Regions from separate parts of the Homo sapiens genome. Here region 1 is linked to region 2. Evidence: promoter capture Hi-C in human tissues and cell types (Jung and others, 2019). All regions are on one chromosome and are shown on one strand. The core of a region is centred on a gene start or on the middle of the fragment in contact, and the rest is flanking DNA. Distances in the headings are between cores, read along the strand shown. Region 1 overlaps INTS9 (integrator complex subunit 9). Region 2 holds the start of KIF13B (kinesin family member 13B).

What was found. The method cuts DNA at HindIII sites, captures the fragments that hold promoters and counts their contacts. A contact is called where the count stands out against the background at its distance.
Region 1: a contact is called between a fragment that was not itself captured here and the fragment with the promoter of KIF13B in region 2, in 2 of the 25 tissues and cell types used here (aorta and spleen).

The regions. Positions count from the first base shown.
Region 1 is chr8:28,771,791-28,778,977 of GRCh38, reverse strand. INTS9 (integrator complex subunit 9) reads left to right here. Exons shown (of 17, transcript NM_018250.4): 13 at 1,025-1,149; 14 at 3,052-3,219. Among named protein-coding and RNA genes, the nearest start is that of EXTL3, 74 kb to the right of the region's middle. RefSeq lists a silencer at 1,490-1,559. The HindIII fragment of the contact is 4,801 bases long and covers 3,132-7,187 here.
Region 2 is chr8:29,259,087-29,265,930 of GRCh38, reverse strand. It overlaps KIF13B (kinesin family member 13B), which reads left to right and starts at 2,861. Exons shown (of 40, transcript NM_015254.4): 1 at 2,861-2,951. The coding sequence starts at 2,897. RefSeq lists a silencer at 2,654-3,483. The HindIII fragment of the contact is 11,996 bases long and covers 1-5,647 here.

The DNA of each region.
Region 1 (7,187 bases), core at 4,283-6,782, 490 kb after region 2:
TTTATGGGGCTTCCAGGGCAGAAGTTGTGTCTGGGAGAGGTTGGGGCCATCTTTTTTTATTGTTTTGTGACTCCTGGATACATGAAAAGGGGGTCAGTATTCTCAGAGAAGCACAATCCACTGGAATGGGCATTTATGTACCTGGCAGCTCTGCCAGTTTGTCCTGACAACAGTGGAGACGTCTCTGTGTCTGGTGTGCCTAAGCCAGGGTCCCTCGTCGCTGGGCACAGACTGTGCTGGGAATCAAAGTGTCACATCAGTTAGGACCGAGCGAGGTCTTTTGGCTCAAGGCAGGCAGCTCCCTCGAGTTGGGGGAATGTTCCCTGCCAAGCAGGCTGCAGCAGCCCTCAGGAGACAGGCTGAGCAGAGGGCGAGGACTCTTCCCGGTCTGAGGGGCTGGGGCTGCTGGGGAGCATCCCAGTCTCAGTCTACAGACCATTCACGGGCCTGGAGGCGGGGCCGTGCGCTTGTCTTCCGGGTGCATCTCACACCTGGGCGTTAACTCAGAGCTGATTCTAGGTTCCCGGGTCTGTACCAGGCCTCTCCACTGTGAAGTCAGTTTTTCCCATTGTATTAAATCAGTACCTTGTGGGGGACTCTTTGAAACTATATACATATTCTGTTCTCCCTCAAAATGGTATCTGATATTTTTAGCATTTGTTGATGATTTTCATCTGAATAAGTGATGAACTGTAATGGTTGCCAAACGGTGGTTTTGGTTTTTATTTCATCGTTTGTTTCTTGGCATTTCGTTGTAAAAAGAGCTTTCTTTTCTCCCCCACATATGTATTTCTCCCTCATTTACCTCATCTGCCTCTGCTGAAGCTTGGAGCCCACCCACAGGGTCCATCCCAGCCTGCCCCTCCTTCCACGGGGCCCCTTTGACCTCCGTCCCCCACGTGTGCTTCCTGGCTCCCTCCTGACCCCCTGACTGTCTGTGGGCCCTCAGCGCCCCAGTTGCTGTCTGGCTTGGCAGCTCCTGTGTAGTCTGCATTGTAAGATTTCTTTCTTGTACTTTCCCTAGAACCAGACTTCTCCTACCTGGAAGCCCTGGCTCCTTACCAGCCGCTGGCCATGAAATGCATCTACTGCCCCATCGACACCCGGCTGAACTTCATCCAGGTGTCAAAGCTGCTTAAAGAAGTGCAGGTAATGAAGGACACTGCTTGTGCCTTCACGTAGTCATGTCACCTTGGTGTGGCTCATGCTTGTGTGGGGTGAGGGGAGAGAGATCTAGCTGTGTTTGATTCTTGTCTTCAGTTCTCACGCATCTGCAGAATGCTGGGACACATGCCAGCCCCCCTCCACACTGAAAAGGAGTGGTCTTTACACCCTGACCGCAGTTTCCATTCTAAAGAAATCAGATGTGGAAGGGAAAGAAAACCATCTGTGTCCGCTTAAAAGCAAACCCTCTCACCCCTGCCAAAAAAAAAAAAAGTCATTCTAGAAACATACTCACTAAGCTGAGACAGTTTAAATGAAACGCGTTACTGGGGCCGTGTCGCACGTGTAGGCTGGTACCACAAACAGTGCTGTCGGGTTTGGGTTTTGTGGCAGTTTTTGGTCATTTGTTTCACTTCACATTTTCTGCCCTGGAGAAAGGGAAGAAGTAGCTGGGGTGCAGTGTAGACCAGGAGGCGCGCGTAGCAGGAAGGCAGGGCCACGGAACCACTGTGCTGGCTCAGCCACTGCTCGCTGGGTTTCTGGCTCTTGAGAGTCGGGAGAGGAACTGGAATTGGCAAGGAGGACAGCTGACACCGGCGAGGAAGAGCTCTCCCTTTCCACTCCCTGGTGTTCCCAGGAGTGAGATGAGGGTGGAGGGGCCCAGCACAGCACCTTCAACCTCAGGATGAGAGAGGCCCTTTCACAAAACTCTAAGGCAGGGGAACAGGAAACAGAGAAAGCCGGAGAACCCCAGGAGGGCCCCAAGAGCGGATTCTGGTGATTATTAATGTGCTTGCCCAATGAAGAAAGAATACTGGCACTCTCTAGGTATGATGAGAGCAGACAGCAAACGTGGGGCCTGTCTACAGTGATTCGCTACCCCAATGTATGCTCATCCACGTTAGAAGCAGCAGTGAAAGGCGTGTTGCTTTTCATTATTAACTTCAAATCCCAGTCCCTAAACCAGCTCTTGACGCCCCTCTGTCAGGTGCTAATCCTGGAAACTGGAGGCCACCTGGTCTCCACTTTAGGTGAGGAAAACCTGGGAGAAGCCATCAGACTGCACCTGTGGCATGAGATGCTTTGAGACAGGTCAAGAGGAGGAGCAAAGGGCAGTTTGGAGGAGAAAAGTATTAGCCCTAAGGAACAAGTGCTTTTGGAAGCTCAGCCCGGTCAGCCTGGTGGAAAGCCGTCTTCAGCAGGGAATTCAGGGCTTGGTCCAAGCTCTTAAGTAGAAGCAGGGACAACACAGTGCCCCTGTGGGCTGCCAGCATTCCTTTTCATTTGGGTGATATTTGTGCAAAGTAAAAATTGGTTTACTAATCTTTTTTTCTCAAGATAACAAAAAGAGACATTTTGTTTAAAAAAAAAAACAAAAAAAAAAAACTCTGCCTCTGCTCCTTGGTTGCACATGGTGAGCACATGAGCTGAGGAGTGCCCACTGCCTAATACCAGCTGACCTGCAGATCCAGCGGAAACTCCAAACCCACAGCGCCAGCCCGGCACGAAAAGCCACAGCTCTTGGTAATCAGCCAAGAGCTTATAATAGCAGGCATGTGGGAATGTTAGAGAAAGACCGTGCCCCGAGGAAGCCCAGAGACCGCTGGGAGCAGACACATGGAAGTTACCGTGAAACTTATGTAAAGAGTAAGAAAGATAAATTAAGCTGAGGCAGTTTAGGGGTTTCCGAGATGTTTCTTCTGCCCCAGTGCCTTCACGTTCCCTCTCCTGTCTACGGTTCATTGGGCTTGAGAGGATGAAAGTTCACCTTGGCCTGGAAGTGGTGAGCCTGTAATGGCGGGGAGTGGATCGGGGTCAGGAATGGGCCTTCCACAGGGGCCACTGTACTTCACACCACCTTTCTCAACTGTCCCATTGGTTCCTCAGCCCCTGCACGTGGTGTGTCCTGAGCAGTACACTCAGCCGCCCCCAGCCCAGTCCCACAGGATGGACCTCATGATCGACTGCCAGCCCCCCGCCATGTCCTATCGGCGGGCTGAGGTTCTCGCCCTGCCCTTCAAACGTCGGTACGAGAAGATCGAGATCATGCCAGAGGTGAGCTGTTCTCCTTCCTAGGGTTAAACTAGAGCTTTCCACAGAGGCTCTTGGAGATCGTGCAGGGGTGGCCTTCTTTTGGATTTATGTCAAGTATAAATGAACCAGGCTGCGCGCAGTAGCTCACGCCTATAATCCCAGCACTTTGGGCGGCCAAGGTGGGCGGATCACTTGAGGTCAGGAGTTCGAGACCAGCCTGGCCAACCCAGCCCAGCCAATATGGCAAAACCCCATCTCTACTAAAAATACAAAAAAAGTAGCCAGGTGTGGTGGCACGCATCTGTAATCCCAGCTACTCGTGAGGCTGAAGCCTGAGAATCGCTTGAACCAGGAGGTGGAGGTTGCAGTGAGCCGAGATCACACCACTGCACTCCAGCCTGGGCAACAGAGTGAGACTCCAAGTATGAATGAACAAAGAACATGGACCCTTAACCAAGTAACCGGGAAGAGGGGGGATTTTCAGGGCCTTCTTGTTTTTCAACTAATAAAATAACAGCTGTTAGTCAGGACTGCTCCTTACCTAGCATTCAGCAGCGTGAGCCCTGGGCCACATCATGGGTCAGAGCCCTGGGAAGTGGAGATGCTGACACCCGCTCTGTCCCTAAATACCATAGGATGGTGACTTTTCTCTTCCTTCCTGGACCTCAGTTATGAGTGAGTGTCAAGAGTTTGCTGAATTCAGAGGTAGATGGGGGAGATAACAGGAACCAAAAAATAAGGATTGTAAACTTGGTTATTTATATCCTCTTGAGCATACTTGCAGGTTTTGGTCTATCAAAGTCTAAGTATTTTATAGGTCTGTGAACTCTTAGCTTCAGTTTTAGCAGGGAAAGAGCCAAAGCATGCTGTCCATGTTGAACAGCTGTGGCATGCTGCGCTTGGGCCACTCCTCTGAGAGGGAGACAGAGAGGGACGCGGCCTCTCCTGAAAGACAGCGTTGAGGATGGTTGGAGGCTACCTCTGGCTTCCTTTCACCTCTTGAGGCAACTTGAATGTGTTTTCAACAGACAGGAAAAAGAAATATAAAAACTTATTGTTAAAACCAGTGTGCCCAAACTTCTTTTGGAGTCTGAGGTTCAGAAATGGCCTCCAGACCTTGGGTTGGAGGTCTTGGCTCCTGAATGTGACTCATTTCCATGAGCCTGGAGAGGCTGCTAGGGACCACCAGGTGCCATCTTTATGGTTGTTTAATGTTTAATATGTTTTTATCATTTTGTTATGATTTTTTCACTTTCTCTGGATTGTTTTTGTCTGGTATTTTACAGGGGCTGGGATTGACGGCCTTGGTTTAGATTTCAACTCTCTAAGCCAGCATTCCTTAAACCTTTTGGTCTCAGACATCCTTACAAATAGAACTCCAAAGAGGTTTTGTTTATGTGGGTTATGTCTATTGATGTTTGCTATATGAGAAATTAAAACTAAGACATTTTAAAAATATTCACTTAATAATACAAACCTATTATATGTTAACATAACTAAGGGATAAAGACAAAAGCAAAAATCAGTCCCAGTGCCAGGGATAAATGTTAAGATTTTGATGTATTTGCCTTGTCTGTTCACTGTGTGTGTGCCTACTGGAATCACACCTCATACACTGTCGTCTTTTTCACCTATCAGTAAGTACATTATATCATTTAAGATATTTCAGCCAGGCATGGTAGCTCACTCCTGTAATCCTAGCACTGTGGGAGGCCGAGGCGGGTGGACAATGAGGTCAGGAGTTCAAGACTAGCCTGGCCAAGGTGGTGAAACCCCATCTCCACTAAAAAAAATTAGCTGGGCGTGGTGTCACGCACCTGTAATCCCAGCTACTTGGAGGCTGTGGCAGAGAATTGCTTGAACCGGGAGGCAGAGGTTGCAGTAAGCCAAGATCATGCCACCGCACTCCTACGTGGATGACAGAGCGAGACTCTGTCTCAAAAAATATATATTTCAGCTGGGCATGGTGGCTCATGCCTGTAAACCCCAGCACTTCAGGAGGCTGAGGCGGGGGTGAATCACTTAAGGTCACGAGTTCAAGACCAGCCTGGCCAACATGATGAAACCTTGTCTCTAATAAAAAAACAAAAATTAGCCACAGGCGTGGTGGCAGGCGCCTGTAATCGCAGCTACTCGGGAGGCTGAGGTTGCAGTGAGCCAAAATCGCGCCACTGCACTCCAGCTTGGGCAACATAGCGAGACTCCGTCTCAAGAAAAAAAAAAAAGATATTTCAAAAGCTTCAGCTTTAATGGTTGCATAATGGTCTGTCATAATTTAACAGTTCCTTTTTTCATAGATTTTTTTTTTTTTTTTTTGAGACGGAGTCTCGCTCTGTCACCCAAGCTGGAGTGCATTGGCGCGATCTTGGCTCACTGCAAGCTCCGCCTCCCAGCTTCATGCCATTCTCCTGCCTCAGCCTCCCTAGTAGCTGGGACCACAGGCACCCGCCACCATGCCCAGCTAATTTTTTTGTATTTTTAGTAGAGACGGGGTTTCATCGTGTTAGCCAGGATGGTCTCAATCTCCTGACCTTGTGATCCACCCGCCTTGGCCTCCCAGAGTGCTGGGATTACAGGCGTGAGCCACTGCGCCTGGCCCCTTTTTTCACAGATTTTCATTTCTGGTTTTTCTGTGTTATAAATAACACTTTTAGGAGCATCCTTTTACATAAATCTTTGTCCATATATGTTTATTTCCATAAGAAAATTTTCTGAAGTTAGAATTTCTGGGTCAAAGATTATGAACATCCCTTTCTGGCTCGAGGCTATATATTGCCAGCTTGTCCTCTAGAATGAGTGTGACAGTTTATACTCCCACAGCAGAGCTGGAGACAGCTCTTACTTCTGCCTCCTTGCTAATATTGAATGTTGTCCTTTTTTAGTTATTTTCCAATTTTATTCAAGTCTTTTCCAGTTATATAAGTATACACTGTTATCTAATTTTAAATTGTATGTCTTTTTTTTTCTTTTTTTGAGACGGAGTCTCGCTGTGTTGCCCAGGCTGAAGTGCAGTGGTGAGATCTCTGCTCACTGCAAGCTCCACCTCCTGAGTTCACGCCATTCTCCTGCCTCAGCCTCCCGAGTATCTGGGACTACAGGCACCTGCCACCACACCTGGATAATTTATTGTATTTTTAGTAGAGACAGGGTTTCACTGTGTTAGCCAGGATGGTCTTGATCTCCTGACCTTGTGATCTACCCACCTCGGCCTCCCAAGTCCTGGGATTACAGGCGTGAACCACCGTGCCCGGCCCTATGTCTTTTTTTGAGACGGAGTCTTGCCGTGTTGCCCAGGCTGGAGTGTAGTGGCACAGTCTTGGCTCACTGCAACCTCTGCCTCCCGGGTGCATGCAGTTCTCCTCCCTAGGCTCTCGAGTAGCTGGGATTATAGGCACATGCCACCAATCCTAGCTAATTTTTGTATTTTTGGTAGAGATGGGGTTTCACCATATTGGCCAGGCTGGTCTCAAACTCCAGTCTGCCCACCGTGGCCTCCCAAAGTGCTGGAATTACAGGCGTGAGCCACCGCACCCAGCCAAACTGTACGTCTTTGATCATTAATGGAGGTAACTGTCTCAATCCAACTTGCTACAGTAATTGCCTTTAAAATGGACATTATGGCCAGGCACATTGGCTCAGGCCTGTAATCCCAGCCCTTGGGAGGCCAAGGCAGGAGGATCACTTGATGCCAGGAGTTCAAGACCAGCCTGGGCAACACAGCAAGACCCCCGTATCTACAAAAAAATAATAAATTAGCCAGGCGTGGTGGTTCATGCCTGTAGTCCCAGCTACTGGGGAGGCTGAGGAGGGAACATCACTTGAGCCCAGGAGGTTGAGGTTGCAATGAGCTATGATCACACCACCACACTCCAGCCTGGGCAGCAGAGTGAGGCCCCATCTCAAAAAAAAAAAGACTCCTTCAGAGTCGTCTTGGAAATAGTGCATGGCTGCCCAGGGAGAGCGCAGAACGCCATCCCCAAAGCTCCCAC
Region 2 (6,844 bases), core at 1,612-4,111:
AAAATTAAGAAGCTGTCATAGTGTCAAACACTGAGATTGGCAATCCTAATTTGGTTATCCTGATGTTGTTTACTTTATTGGGCTGTGAAAATCAAAGGACCTGCTGCACTAAACCCACTGCTGGTCTAGATGAGACCTCCTGAAGTGCAGAGGCAGTGCCCCTAAGAAAGAAATTTCCTTTTTTAAAAAAGAGGGCCTTCTGGGGTAGCATTTTCTATTTTTAACCTTTTTTGAAATTTTGATAAAAAACACGTAACATAAAACTTACTATTGGCCAGGCACAGTGGCTCACACCTGTAATCCCAGCATTTTGGGGGGGCTGAGGTGGGTGGATCACTTGAGGTCAAGAGTTTGAGACCAGCCTGGCCAACATGGTGAATCCCCATCTCTATTAAAAATATAAAAATTAGCTGTGTGTGATGGTGCACACCTGTAATCCCAGTCACTCTGGAGGCTGAGGCAGGAGAATCACTTGAACCCAGGAGGCAGAGACTGCAGTGAGCAGAGATCATGTCACTCACTGCATTCCAGCCTGGGCGACAGAGCAAGACTCCATCTCAAACAAACAAACAAACAACAACAAAAAGCTTACCATCTTGGCTGGGTGTAATGGCTCACACCTGTAATCCTAGTGCTTTGGGAGGCTGAAGTGAGGAGGATTACTTGAGGCCAAGAGTTCAAGACCAGCCTGGACAACATAGCGAGACTCCATCTCTACCAAAAAATGAAATATAAAAATTAGCTAGGTGTCGTGGTGCGTACCTGTAATTCCATCTAGGTGAGAGGCTGAAGCAGGAAAATCGCTTGAGCCCAGGAGTTTGAGGCTGCAGTGAGCTATGATCACACCACTGCACTCCAGTCTGGGCAAACAGAGCGAGATCCTGTCTCTAAAAAAACCCAAAAAACCTTACTGCCTTAACCACTCTTAAGTGGTTAGGTGGCGTTAAGTACATTTACATTGTTGTGCAACCATCACCACCATTCATTTCCGCAGCTGAAATCTTCCCAAGCCGAATCTCTGCACCCATTGAATACTAACTCCTCATACCCCCTTCTCCTAGCCCTTAGTAACCTCCAGTCTACTTTCTATCTCCATGAATTTGACTACCATGTGTATCTCATATATGTAGAACCATGCAGTGGTTGTTCTTTTGTGTCTGGCTTATTTCACCTAGCATAATGTTTTCAAGGCCCATCATCCATGTTGCAGCATGTTTCAGAATTTCCTTTCTTTTAAAGGTATTTTTAGACCGGACACAGTGGCTTATGCCTGTAATCCCAGCACTTTGGGAGACTGAGGTGGGTGGATCACCTGAGGTCAGGAGTTCGAGACCAGCCTGGTCAACATGGCAAAACTACGTCTCTACTAAAAATATGAAAATTAGCCAGGATTGGTGGCACATGCCTGTAATCCCAGCTACTGTCGAGGTTGAGGCATGAGAGTCGCTTGAAGCCAGGAGGTGGAGGTTGCAGTGAGCCGAGATCATGCCACTGTACTCCAGCCTGGGTGACAGAGCTAGATCCATCTCAAAAAAAAAAAAGTATTTTTATACTTTTTGACAACATTGCTTGTATTGAAGATACTCAATAACAGGATGGTTGGTAAAAGGGCAAGTCTTACCAGCTTTCTGTATTTACTCATCTGTAAAATGGTTCTGAGTTCTATTACTATCATTTAAACACATCTAAGCAGGGGTCACAAACCCACAAGGTCCAGGCGCATGTGTGGTAAAGCCACCTGGAGGGGGGCCGTGGTGAAGTGGAGAGACGGGTCTCTGATAAAGGTGGCTGCTGCTATTTAGTTCCAATCCACTCTGTCCAATATGTAATGTAGGCCCAGTACTGCATGCACAAATCTGATTTCACACTCTGTTACCCAAGCTGGTCTCAAACTCCTGGCCTCAAGCAATCCTCCTGCCTCAGCATCCTAAAATGCTGGGATTCCAGGTGTGAGCCCCTGCACCTGGCCACAAATCTGATTTTTATGTGTTGGCCAACACTGTTGGGCCAAACAGAACATGTTTGCGTGCTGGCTCTGGCACCCAGGCCACCTGTTAGAATGTCTGCCAGGGCTAATAAAAAGCTAATTTTAGTGTGGCCTCATTCATTAATTCATGCAATTAATGTTTATGGGTCTCTACTAAAGGCTAGGTTACACATATGTTAATCTTATTTAAAAATGTACCTATTTTACTAGGTATTAGTATCATATCCACTTTTCATATTAAAGACAAGCCCAGAGCGGTCAAATAACTTGCCCCTGGTCACACAGTGGGAAGCGCTGAGGTGGGCTTTGAACTCAGATGGTTTTCAGAGCCCAAGGTCCTGTCTCAAAGGAGGGGGACTCACAGGACAATGTTAACCCGTGGACCTATGGACACTCCCAGAAAACGTGATTTGCAACTTGTCGTGAAGGACGAGCTCAGCAAACAAGGCCGGACGTCAATCCAGGCAGAGGAAATAACTTGAGCCAGGGATCAAACACTAAGATTGGCAGGAAATGAGCAGGAAGAGGTAGCGGGGTCCCTGACGCCATCTATTCAATTGTTTTTCAGAAGAGGTATCAGCTCTTGAAGGCTTACTTCTCAATACTGGCTGCGAGAGCAAGAATGGTGTGTAATTTACAAAAGCCGTCATTGCTGTAGGTAAGTTGTAGCAAACGACTCGCGCCCGAGCATTCCCGCCCCCGCCTTCGCTGCGGCCCCGCCCACGACGACCCTGGGGAACTACAAGTCCCGCCATACAGCGGGGAGCGCCCGGAGCTCGCGCCGGCCCCGCCCCCAGCCCGGTCCCCACCCCCGGCTCCGCCCCCGGCCCCCTCCCGCCGGGTCAACCCCGAAGAGTCGCCGGTGGCCGCGGCAGACGGAAGCCGAACGAGTTCCTCGGCGGCTGCAGGATGGGGGACTCCAAAGTGAAAGTGGCGGTGCGGATACGACCCATGAACCGGCGAGGTGAGAGCCGAGCCCTCCTGGGCCGCCGGGGCGGAGGCGGCAGGTGCCTGGCGCGCCCTTCCCTCGGCCGCCGTGGGGGGTCCGGCGGCCCCGCCCCTATAGTCAGCGGCGGGGCGCGAGGAGGGGCCCGGGGACCCTGAAACCCGCTCCCGCGCTGAGACGCCCGGCTCCCTCTTCTCCCCTCCCTTCCCCCCTGGCCAGCCCCGTCCCTGGCGCCGTCGGGCCCCTCGTGCCGGCCCCGCTGCCCCTTCCGCCTGCGCCCGCCCCGCCCCTGCGCCCTTTTGCCCTCTCGTCTCCCCCGGAGGTTCCCGAGGGCGCCCTCGGCCCTCGCGCCCAGCCTCGTCCTGGCCCCTCAGCCTCGCTCCTTCCCCGCCAGCTGTCATCGTCGCCCCCGCGCGCGGGTCGCCAGCCCCTGCAGCCCGCCTCGGGACCGCCCGGGACCCCCCGGGACCCCGCGTCTCGCCCGGGTCGCCCAAGCCTGCACCGCCTTGGCCCGCGGCGGGAAGAAGGGCAGGGGGCCAGGCGGGTGCCCCGCGGCGAGTTCCTTCCACCTGGGCGTCCTGAGATTGGGGTCAGGTGGAGGAGATGCCCTTTTCGTTGTTTTTGGACAGTTGAGAAAGTTTTGGTTTTGCCTGAAGTCTCATTCATCATCTCTCAATAAATAGCTAAAGTGCCAAGATTCTTGTGGAATTGTATCTTTCTGACATTCTCTTAACTCTGCAGGGAGTGTAGAGAAGGCAGATAAACCGAGTACATTTAAATAATCTGTAGACCCGGGGAGTGGAGAGAACCCCAAAAGTCAGGGGAGGAGGTGGGCTGGGTCTTGGCTTTGATAGTCAAAGCAGCATGACTGGGTGAGTTGCTTTAAATAAGATAATGTGTTTGAAAACGCTTTATATACAAGGTCCTGTCATTGGGGGTCACTATTACTGTCTCAGGAGATGACTTTGCCATTGATGAGACTTTGAACTAATTAGAATCATTTAAGTACCAGAGACAAAGTTGTAGCTTCTTAGCAAAATCAAGTGTTGTTTAATTTTTATGTAGAAATTATAGGTTGTTTTCCTCTTCTTTGCTTTCTTTTGTATATATTGAGACATACAGATCAACCAGTTGACATAAGCTTTGTTGGTTTGTCCTTCTCGGGGAAATTGGTTTCTCGCTTGGAGTTATCTCATCTATGGGAATTGTTTTGTCCTGTTCCTGCTAGGTCCGATTAAAGCTGTCAGGTGAGTTTTTTTCCCTAAGAACTTAATTACTTTAAGTTCTCAACTAGTGCAAGATTGAGTCCTGCTTTGCTTCACTAATCTCGTGCTCTGACAACACACAATAAACGTCGATACAATTCTGAAAATTTTCAGAAGCATCAGTTTTTAAATATTCAGGTATCTGTATTTCAGTTTACTTCCAGTTTACCATCACAATAATTTAAAGAAAGAAGCCAAATGAAACATAACTTATCTGGGAATTGATTCTGAAAGGATGGTTTCAGCACATTCTTAAAATTTCCTTTTCACAAAAAACTTGGAAATGTCAGTGCTAAAAAGAGGCCGCTAACCAACCACCACAAAAGACATCTCAGATATTTAGAGCCCTTTCCCTCTCCCTTTCCCCATTGGTTTCACTTTTTGAGGGAAATTCTTATGCTTTTCTCTTATAAATTGCCATTGATAAGGTTGTAATAAACATCAGAGTTTAGAGGAAGGCAAAGAATAATAGTTTTAGCTGTGGAACGGATGTGAGCTGATCCTTGGGTTCAACAATCATTTTGAAATTGAGGTTTACCCATAGATTCCATTAGCCTATATAGAGAAGTGCATTATTTGGTGTAAAGTACCTCCTGTGTTCACTTAGTGCCCATTCTTAGCCTTATATTTCCTGACGTGCATGTGGACTTCTTTTTTCAGTGATTACCACACATAAATTTGTTCTTTTCCATTTTTGTTATGAAGTAATTGTTCACATAAATATAAAGGTTATTATGGAATACAGTGTGGTGGGATTGTAAATCCAGTGATTTTTAAAAATTGGTGTCCAAAGTTTGTATAAAAAGACTAAAACAGGCCAGGCACGGTGGCTTACGCTTATAATCCCAGCACTTTGGGAGGCCGAGGCGGGTGGATCACCTGAGGTCAGGAGTTCGAGACCAGCCTGCCTAACATGGCAAAACCCTGTCTCTACTAAAAATACAAAAAATTAGCCGGGCGTGGTGGTGGACGCCTGTAATCCCAGCTACTAAGGAGGCTGAGGCGGGAGAATAGCCTGAACCCAGGAGGCGGAGGTTGCAGTGAGCCAAGATCGTGCCACTGTGCTCCACCCTGGGCGACAAGAGTGAAACTCTGTCTCAAAAAAAAAAAAGACTAAAACAAAACCATATTTCTTTCCAGTAATTTCCTTTTTTTTCTTCCTTGTATGATCTGTAGGAACCTTTCCAGTAATTTTGAAAAGAATATTACTTTGAACAGTTATTAGTATTATGTAATACTGTATAATTATGACAAAGAGTAAAACTTGAGTCCTAATAGTTTCTATCATATAGGTGCCGGAAGCAACCTTATAAATCGCTATCTATAAAAGAGGACGGGGATGAGAATGGGTTACTGTGATGATGTAGTTTTACTGTGTAGACTCTGATATTTGGAATCACATTAGCTATCTTTTGAGGAAAATCTGAAAATTTCCAGAAAACTCTGGTGTATTAAGTTCTTGTGTGATTCAGTGGTTGTGCTTAGGTGTTTGGAGTTTTAAGGTGGTTAGCTGATTTATTATTTAACAGTTATCCTCGAAGTGAGAGTATTTTAGTCTTTCTGCTAAACTGTATGTGGGTTTGGGAACCTTAGTTATTTGAAGGTTAAGCATTAGGCCCTAATTCAGTAACAGGAAGAGTTGTAATGGCTAATTTGTCAGAAATATTTGTCTAGTCATACATTTATTTTAACATTCCACTAACAAAAGGAAAAAGAAAAAGAAAAAAGTTCACATACTTTCTTCATCCTAACAGCTTTTCATTTCCATGCCAGTTTGTGCTCACACGTGTATGTAATTTTACATAATTTTAATATTACAACCTTTATTTTGCCTTTCTTCATCTGAGATGCAAAGCTAAACAACTAGAGAAAAGGGTAAATTTTTGTCACAAGATCTTCAAGTTCTATTTGCAGATATCGTTTGTTTTCCAGTGTTGTTGTTCAGACTGTACAGCTAAACAGATAATTCTTGTGTGCTTCCATGTGCCGCACAGAACACCCATTCATACATTATTAACCCGTCTAATCATTACAGGAGCTGAAAGTTCTGTAGCCGTAATTGGTGGGATTAGTTAGATCAGCAACATTCTCCTTTCCAGGAATTTGATGTTTTCTAACTTTAGGTGGCTTAAAAAACATTTAATAGGTAAGCAAACATTGATTGAGTGCCTGCCAGGTATCTGGCTTATATTAGATAGGATGAGATCTTAATGCTTTTCCTCAAGGGATTTCCTGTGTGTAAATCTGTATAAGATCAACTACCAAAATAAGTAAATATCTATAAAAGGTGTTTGGAATACCTTTGTTACCTACCTAGCCTAAGGGGGTAGAACCGGGAAACGAAAGAAATGAAGATAGAAACAGTGAAATAGATTATTTCAGGTGTTAGGGAGAATGGACAAGAAATTTATTTCAGGAGATATTTCAAATGAGTTTACTTGGCATTTTCCAATACTTGATGTGGTGAAAGACACAGAAGTATGTAATAATGTCTAATAGAGTCAATGTAGAGTCAGTGCCTTGGTAATCATGATCTAGTATCTCAATGGAGGGACTATTATACAGCGATTAAAATGATGACAGTCAAAACCATTTAACAAGGAAGATCGTTTTCTCTGTTAGTGGAAAAAGAATGTAAAGCTGTAC